Regions from separate parts of the Homo sapiens genome. Here region 2 is linked to region 1. The links are contacts of gene promoters, found by promoter capture Hi-C in human tissues and cell types (Jung and others, 2019). All regions are on one chromosome and are shown on one strand. The core of a region is centred on a gene start or on the middle of the fragment in contact, and the rest is flanking DNA. Distances in the headings are between cores, read along the strand shown. Region 1 holds the start of HMHB1 (histocompatibility minor HB-1). Region 2 overlaps ARHGAP26 (Rho GTPase activating protein 26).

Region 1 (4,174 bases), core at 1,095-3,594:
TCCGTCTCAAAAAAAAAAAAAAAAAGGAAAAATAGAAAGTTAAAGTTTCCTTTAATTATGAAAGCAATAGTAATACCTAAATTTTTGTTACCAGTGAAAATTCTGAGTCTAATTTAATTCTGTTATTTTCATAACACATTTTAGTTTTTGCAGATATCTGTAAATATCATTCCCAGGTTGATATTAGACATTTTTAGATCTTCTTATTTAATATGTTATTAAAGAAGAAAATATGTTACTATGTCACAATTTTTAACATTTTGATAACTGTATTCAATATAATTGGCTCTTTATAATTCTATATATTTTCTTTTATACTTATAAAAATGATGATTCTGAGACAGAGTCCAGGGGCCTTACCAGAGTGCATAAGCTTCCCAAAGCACAGAAAGTTAGACCTCCACACCTCCACAAATAGATCTAATTTCAGGGCAAGAAAAGCAGTGATGATGCTTTATGACCATATGTTCTTTTTGACAAAAAAGCAGTCTTTAACAGTTTTGGCTAATTGCAAAAAGCCAATGCATTCTCAAAGGAAAAAGATATGCCAACACTGAAGATACTTTTGAGAAAATTCCATCATCAAAGAAGATGGTTTTTGTTTTTTACAGACCCAGTCTTTCTCTGTCATCCAGGTTGGGGTGCATTATTGGAGTGATCATGGCTTACTGCAGCCTCAAACTCCTGGGCTCAATTGATCCTCTGGCCTCAGCCTCCTGAGTAACTGAGGCTACATGTATGCACCACCGTGCCTGGCTAATTTTTTATTTTTTATTTATTATTTTTTTTTGTGTGGGGATGAGGTCTATGTTGACCAGGCTGGTTTCAAACTCCTGGGCTCAAGCGATCCTGCTGCCTTGGCCTCCCAAAGTGCTGGGAATTACAGGTGTGAGCCACAGTGCCTGGCTAAGATGGAGTTTTATATACAGAATTATCAGGCCTTCTTTCATATCTCATCCTCAATATGCAAATAACTAATTCATTTAGCAAATATTTATTGAACGTCCATTATGTATGAGGCACTATTGTAAGTATTGGAATAAGTGCAGTGAACAGGTCAGATATGGTAACTGCCTGGATGGAGTTTATGTTATAATGGAAGCAAATAGACACAAGAAATATGATCGCATCAGGTATTTATAAGTGTTATGGTGAAAATAATGCAGAGTAATCTAATCTAGGGAGTGAGAGGGTGACTAGGGTCACCCATGTGGTGGCTAGGTGCCTGGGTCTGGCGTTGCACTTCTTCCATTCAAATCCTGGCTCCATGCACCTCTGGCTCTATGGCCTTGTCCAGTTGTGCACTCTCTAAATCCCAGTTTTGTTACCTGTAAAATGGACATATTAACATTACCTACTTTAAAGAGGTGTTTTAAAGAAAATGGCTACTCCTAACATCTCCCCAAGAACCAAGCACAGAATTTTGGAAGTTTTAATATATTTTCTTAAAGAAGTCTCTTTCTCAGCATTGTAAGACAATTAACTAGATTCAAGTCTCAGAGTTGTTAAGTTATTTTATCTTAAGGCATCCAACGGCACAGATTGACATTAAAGTGAAAGAAGAACTAGCTTCATCATTGCCATTGTTCTTTACCATAGCCCATGGGAACACAGGACCCGGCTGACTGAGAAAAGTGAATGAGGGGAATTATATCAGAAATGACAGAGAAGGATGGGCAGGATTTCTGGCAGGCACAGGTATTTCTAAGTAAGAAATGGTGTGGTTAGGAGAGAATACTCTCAAGAAGGGGAGAGATGGATTCTGCGGCAAAGGGAGGTTCCTTCATTCAGTGTTTATGGAGAGAATAAAGGCGCTGGCCCCTCCAGTGAGGATATGGAGTAAACGAGACAATCAAGTCCATCACTCCTGGAGCCTGCATTCTAGTGTGGAAGACAGACAGCAAATGATACATCAACATTAAGAAATTCATGAGTAAATAAAGATAATTTCAGGCAATAATAATTACTCTGAAGAACATAAACAGGGACCTATGATAGAAAAGGGGTGTAAAGGAGTTTGGAGGATTTAAGCTGAGTGAGCAATCTCATCTCTATTTTGATAAGGTCACTGTGGATTCTGTGTGGATAACACATTGGATGTGGATAAGAACAGGAGCAGAGAGACCTCCAATAGCAGGAGGCTGCTCTAGGGGTCCTTGCAAGGGATGCTGGCAGCTTGGACCCGAGTGGTGGGATGCAGATGGAAGAGGCAGGTGGACAGATGAGACAGCTGAAGCAGGAAAAGCAGGCACAAAGGCTAACACAACACAATGTAACAGAACGGGAGTTTAGAACGGAAGGAACACTCCAGAGTCATTCTGGTCCAATTCTGCAGATGAGGAAACCACATCCCAGGAGGCCGAGGCGGCTTGCCCCGCATCTCAGAAGCCGGGCAGGCCCTGAGCCTTCTGACCTCACATCCTCTGCCACACCACAGTGGAGAAACCAGAACTGGAGGAGCAGCCAGAATGCAGAGAAGAAAAAAGAGGTGAGGGAGCGAGGAGGAGGGAGAACAGAGAGAGAGGGAAAGAGGCAGCGAAGGGGCAGAGAAAATGAAAGAAAATGCTGGTGGAATGAGAGGGAAACCACAACAGGTGAAAACAGGGATGGCGGAAGGCAGGGGAGAGGAGTGAGACGGCCCTTGTTGCTGGGATTATTTAGGGCGGATAGTTTCCAGTTGAGGTTCGGTTTCATAGCCCATTGCCTGGCTGCCTGCAGCTGTCAGGGCACCAGAGGCAGCAGTTGGAGCAGCTGCCTGCACCACCTGAGCCACAAGGACAACGGCAAGGGAAGTGCAGATGGGCAGGAAGTCCCTCTGGGTCGGAGCCAGGGTAGCCAAGATCACATTGTTCTTGCCCACCGCGTGGGATGCTCAGGCTTCCCAAGGCAGCCCAGAGACCAGACCCGTCCTTTATCCTTAGCATGGCCACCATCATCACCATCATCGCCATGCTCCCACTTCTTAGGATCATGTGCCGGGGGCTTTGCATGCATTTCTCTCTTTCATCCTCACAGAAGCACTTGAGGGGGGTATAGCTTTCCCCAGTTTACAGATAAAGACACGATGGCTTCATTCCTTAACTCACTAACCTCATTTCAGAGCCAGGAAATGGCAGAAAGGCCCTGCTGTCGTGTTTTTTGTTTGTTTGTTTGTTTTTTTGTCTTGTTTTCTCCTCTTGAAGAGGACACACGGAGCCCTGGGTTGACGTTATAGGAGGTGTTGGTGCCGTGCACTGAAGGGATCTGCTGTTTTCTCCTTCCTGCAACTGGAGGTCACTCAGCCTGGACTGATGAGGCCGGGGAAGCCTGTGCTCTGTCTGGTCCACACAGCCCCCTCAGCCACCCCAGGGAATGCTCAGATCCAGTTGCACAGGTAGCCCACAGAATACAAACAGAACTTTCTTTTAGAATTTTTATGCTGTTTTATTGTTTCATACAGACAACTACCGACCTTCCCTTTTTTCCTTCAAGGCCCCTTTCAAATGTCACCTCTTCTATGAAGGTTTTATTTCTTTCCAGGCAAAATAAACCACTCCCTTTTTGGTGCCCTCATAGTTTTACATTTTGGCCTAAAGCACTTGTTCGCCTCCTCCATCAGAGCATGGGATTCTTGAGGGAAGGAACTGTGTTTTAATCATTTCTGTATCCTTGGCATCTAGCACAGTGCTTGGCACAGTAAAAGCTGTCAATAAATGTTAGCTGAACTGAAAAGTAAAAAATGGAAAGGGCATTTGTTGGGGCCAGCATAAGTCAACTGTTTCCATCCTTGTTTCCTTAACTCAGAAACTCAAATGAAGAAAGACATTGTCAGTCTCATGAGCAGTCCATATTTTTTTTTATTGGTGAGAGATAAAGTAAATGGCATGTGGATTTCCTTTGGAAGAATAACAAATAAAATTCTTTTGTAAGGATGTGAATTATAAAATTAACTTTTTTTATCTCCAGATTGTCATTTTGCAAGGAAAAAAATATAAGTAATAAATATGAACATACCTTTTTTATTTCAGACTTTTGCTCCATAGGCAATAGAAATGAGATGGCCAATTACAGTATTGAAGCAGAAGTACAGATATAACTCAGTGCAGAGGCAAATATGGCACATGATATTTTCATATTTTTATGTGTTACTATGAGTAACACTATTGCAAATTCATTTTATTTATGATTTGGTCTT
Region 2 (4,328 bases), core at 451-2,950, 620 kb before region 1:
ATTGTCCCTTCTCAGCTGTAAGGAGGCCACAGCCCCCTTGATTTTGAACCCAAAAATGGAAAATGAGAGCATTCCATCTCACAGGACACTTTCGCAAACTACACCAGCCCAGTCTGATCCCTCCCTTCTCAGAATCCCTACAGTTCTTTTGACCAAATCTCAGATTAGCACTAAAAGTTTATTAATTCAGTGGATAAGAAGCTTACACATATTTCCAGAGCCAAAAAGAATAATAAAATCCATGCAAACAAATAAAAGGTTTTAGAGGAACAAAGTAATCACAACAGTGTTTTGCTACTAAGTACAATACGTGGGGGCATTCACACTTCCCAGTCATTTCCAGAGCTGACCTAGAACACAATAGGAACCAAGATCAGTGGTTCCCATCTCTGGTTGCTCATCAGAACCACAAGGCCAGAGCAGGAATAGTATTTTGAAGATATAGCTTCTTAGGCCCCAACCCTGCCATAGTCATTCAATTTCTTGCTAATGTTAGGACTTGCCATTTTGTAAAGTACATTTGATTTTCTTTCATTTTTGTAATTTTGTCATTTGTAATAGTCCTTCCCGGAGGGGAGTCTCCCTTCCTTCCTATAGTTTTCTGGGAGAATGACAGAAAATTTGAGTATATATAGTAGAGTACCATTTTGTCATGATAAGGCTGGGTGACAATGTTGGAAGAAGGAAGAGCTGACAGAGACATGCTGTGGGGTTTTGGGGATGACATTGTGGAAAGTTTACCCTCACTAACATTTCAGGTAGGTATATTTGAAAGTGTAGACTGATGATTTCTGAAGGGAACTGAATGAGCTTGTACCACTGTGACCATGAATACCGTTGCAAGTGAATTAACATAAATATACTGACAAAAAGTGAGTAGAACTTTAGAACTGTTACATCTCAGGTAGTGAAAGTGAGGGTAACCTAGAAAAAGGAGGTGTAATAACTGTAGTATCAAACAGTGTGTTGCATCCTGCAAATAGCTAGAGATGTGGCAGGTTACACAGAAGAAGAGAAGTCCCTGGGCTGTTTGTTTGGGGCTTGTGTAGTTCCCCGTTTCCAAAATGGAACAAGCGACATACTCTTTTAAGGGTGCACAGAGACTTCATTGAAAAGGCAAGCATTTGTTTCCCTAAACAGAATGACTTTTTAGCTTTACCAAGAAACAATTTCTTGCAGGAAAAGTATGTTTTGCTGTTATCAGCTACTACTGGGAATTCTGCTACAGACAGGCCAATGTTTACCACTGATCTTCTTTCCACAGTTCTTTCAAAATAGGACCCTTTCCATTAAGTTCACATAGTATTCTGGGAAAAGTCTCTGTGATTAAGCAAAGAGACTGTGAAGGAGCTTAGGCAGAAATGGGGGTTAGCTTTGTTTTAATCCTAAATGTTTAACCATAAAAAAGATGCACTTGGGCTTAAGACAGTGAGCCCTCAGCAGTCTACTTTGTTGAGATCTCGGCTCAGATGTCACCCAAAAGAAGTTGCCCTAGCCACAGAATCCAAATTACACCCACACACCCTCCCCACCCAGGCACCTGCTTTCACACTGCCTTGATTTTAGTTGATTTCATAGCTCTTAATACCACCTAAAATTATCTTCTTTGGTTGTTTACGAGTTTATTTTCTGCTTTACACACTCATAAGTAGTATTTCCTAAATTTTTTCCATTAGGATAATAATTAAAATATTATCAAAAAGCATGTACTTCCAATAAGTGTTTGTTTTTATTTACTTAATTATAAAGTGTATACCTGCCTTAGTAATTGCTATATTACACACATTAGAAAACATAAAAAATATAAATGTTATAAGAATCAGATATTTAAAATGCCAATAGGAGCTTTGATATTTTTCTCCTCCACCAGCCTGTGTTCTCGCCCACCCTACCTTGAAGCCTACTGAACTTGAATGTAAGCTGCCTGAGAGCAGAGGGCTTGCTTGGCTTGTTACCTGCTGTGTTTCCAGTGCCTACAACTGTGCCTAGCATGTACTAGGTGCTAAGTAAATATTTGATTATTAAATATTTATTGTTGAGTAGTAAACAAGGCTAAGGCACAATTCACTCTTCCAGGCTCCTAATAGCTAAGGTTTTACTACATCTTTGGAGGACAGAAGGAGGGGGGGGAAAAAAAAAAAAAGACCTGGTTTCTGGGGTTCAGAATGCCTTCCTAATACAATATGTGCTGAATAAGGATTTACTGTAATGATTCAAATCCTTCACCAAAGAGGTAATTACAGCTTCCTTGGTAAGAGCAGAGCTCAGGCAGACAGACAGGTGGTTTCTAGTTTCTCTTATAACAGATGGCACAAATGGACCAGCTTCTGAAGCTTTTTGAGGAAATTTGCTCATAAACAGTTTTAAATATTTTTCTTTTATATCTTCCAACACATGCTTCTTAAAGTAAAAATGCTTCAGTAGATTGCAGGCAAGGGCACATATTATGAATAGTGCTGCACGGGGCAGGGTGCTTGCAGTTTGCCTGAGTAGCAGATGCAGCATGTCAGGAACATAAGAGGGAGGCTCTGTGCGCCATGGTGGCTAGATATACATTGAATTTTCGAAGTGCTTAAGGAAAAAACAAAGCTGTCCACCAAGAATTTTATGATCAGCAAAACTATTCTTCTCAAATGAAAGTGAAATAAAGATATTCCCAGACAATTTCTAGAAGAAAGCATAGGAGAAAATGTGTAGGTTAGGCAAATACTTAGATTTAACATCAAAAGCACAATTTAAAAAGAAAAAAATTAACAAATTGAACTTGACCAAAATTAAAAATGTTTGCCCTTCAAAAGACACCACTGAAAAAATGAGAGGACAAGCCACACACTGGGAAAATATATTTGCAAATATTATCACTAATAAAGAACTTGTATCCAGAATCTATGCAGAAATCTTACTACTCAATAAGAACATGGTGTCCATAGAATGGAATAGAATTCAGTAATAAACATGAATTGACTACTTATACACGCCAGAACATGGGTGAACTTCAGAAAACATGCTAAATGAAATGTCAGACACAAAAGACCACACAATATGCAATTCCACTTTTGTGAAATATCTAGAAAAGGCAGATCTCTAGAGTTAGAATGCAGATCAGTGGTTGCCTGTGGCTGAGCATGGGAGCAGGGCTTAACTGCAAATGGCAGGAAGGACCTTTTTGGGGTGATGGTGGCATTATAAAACTGAATATGGATGATGCTTGCACAGCTCCATCAGTATTCTAAAAGTTGTACACTTAAGTAAGGCAGATAAATTTCATGGTATATAAATTATACCTCAATAAAGCTGTTTTAAACTCTCCCAGGAGTACAAAGCATTCCTTAAATGTTGATAACTGTTGTTGTTTTTATTATTCTGTAGGTAGTGTAGACAAATGATACCAAAATTAAGAGAGAAACATTAAATGACTGTGTACACCTTGCTTGAGTGGACAAATATGCTTTTCATTCATTAAATTGGCTCTTCCAAATAATTAAGTAGATCTTGGGAAAATATATGCCACACTTTTACAAGAGGGTATAAAAGGATTAGTGGCCGAGAACAGAAATTTCCAAAATGTGAGCTGTGTGACACTGAGATAGCTGAAATAGCTTTAAGTGGTGCTTGGGTGAACTTTATTCTATATACTAATAATAATGAGATATTATTTGCAATGGGCTAAAGTAGACATTTGTTAAAGAGATCAATCTAAAGAAAATATTAAGAAAATATGTATTAAAATTACATGTGATACACAGATGTGACAAACGTCATGAAGGTGGGACACTCATGACTGAGTTTGGGCGCCACCACCCAGTAGCCAGGAGCAAGAACAATGCCAGTGGGTGGCTGAGAATGAATACTGAAACACAGGCATTCATCCAAGTTTATGCCCAATGTGCCTGTCTCCCTCCCAACCAGAAATGAAATGTCTGAATGTCCCCTTCCATCGTATTTGTCAGGCCTGTCTTAGGCAAGCCGACAAGTGGCCATATGTGGAGCTGTCGTGACAACACCAGAATGAGAGCTGTACCGTTTTATGACATCAGATAATTCTGACTCAGAAATGTCTGCCTTCCCTGTCTGCCAGCAGTCTTACCCTTGGTTTCTGGTAGATCCATTTCCATTCTTTTAACTATTTACTTGATCCTGTGGAGTCTTTCTTAAAAATACAGTCTTTAGATATTGTCAGTTCTAAGCATTCACAGTGTGCAAGAGATAAAAGAGGGATAAGACAACTGCAATTCAATGTAGCATCAAGACGGGAAGAAAAACACAGCCCTTGAAGATTCCAAGGAGAAAGATCTAACTCACTGGAGAAAGATCAAACTCATCGTGAT

Evidence for each region. Contacts are between HindIII fragments. The study calls those that stand out against the background at their distance.
Region 2: a fragment that was not itself captured here is called in contact with the fragment with the promoter of HMHB1 in region 1 in 1 of the 25 tissues and cell types used here (dorsolateral prefrontal cortex).

What each region holds. Positions count from the first base shown.
Region 1 is chr5:143,809,817-143,813,990 of GRCh38, forward strand. It overlaps HMHB1 (histocompatibility minor HB-1), which reads left to right and starts at 2,345. Exons shown (of 2, transcript NM_021182.3): 1 at 2,345-2,488. The coding sequence starts at 2,452. The HindIII fragment of the contact is 7,714 bases long and covers 1-4,174 here.
Region 2 is chr5:143,187,906-143,192,233 of GRCh38, forward strand. The region is part of intron 20 of ARHGAP26 (Rho GTPase activating protein 26); the gene reads left to right. Among named protein-coding and RNA genes, the nearest start is that of ARHGAP26-IT1, 2.4 kb to the right of the region's middle. The HindIII fragment of the contact is 6,015 bases long and covers 1-4,328 here.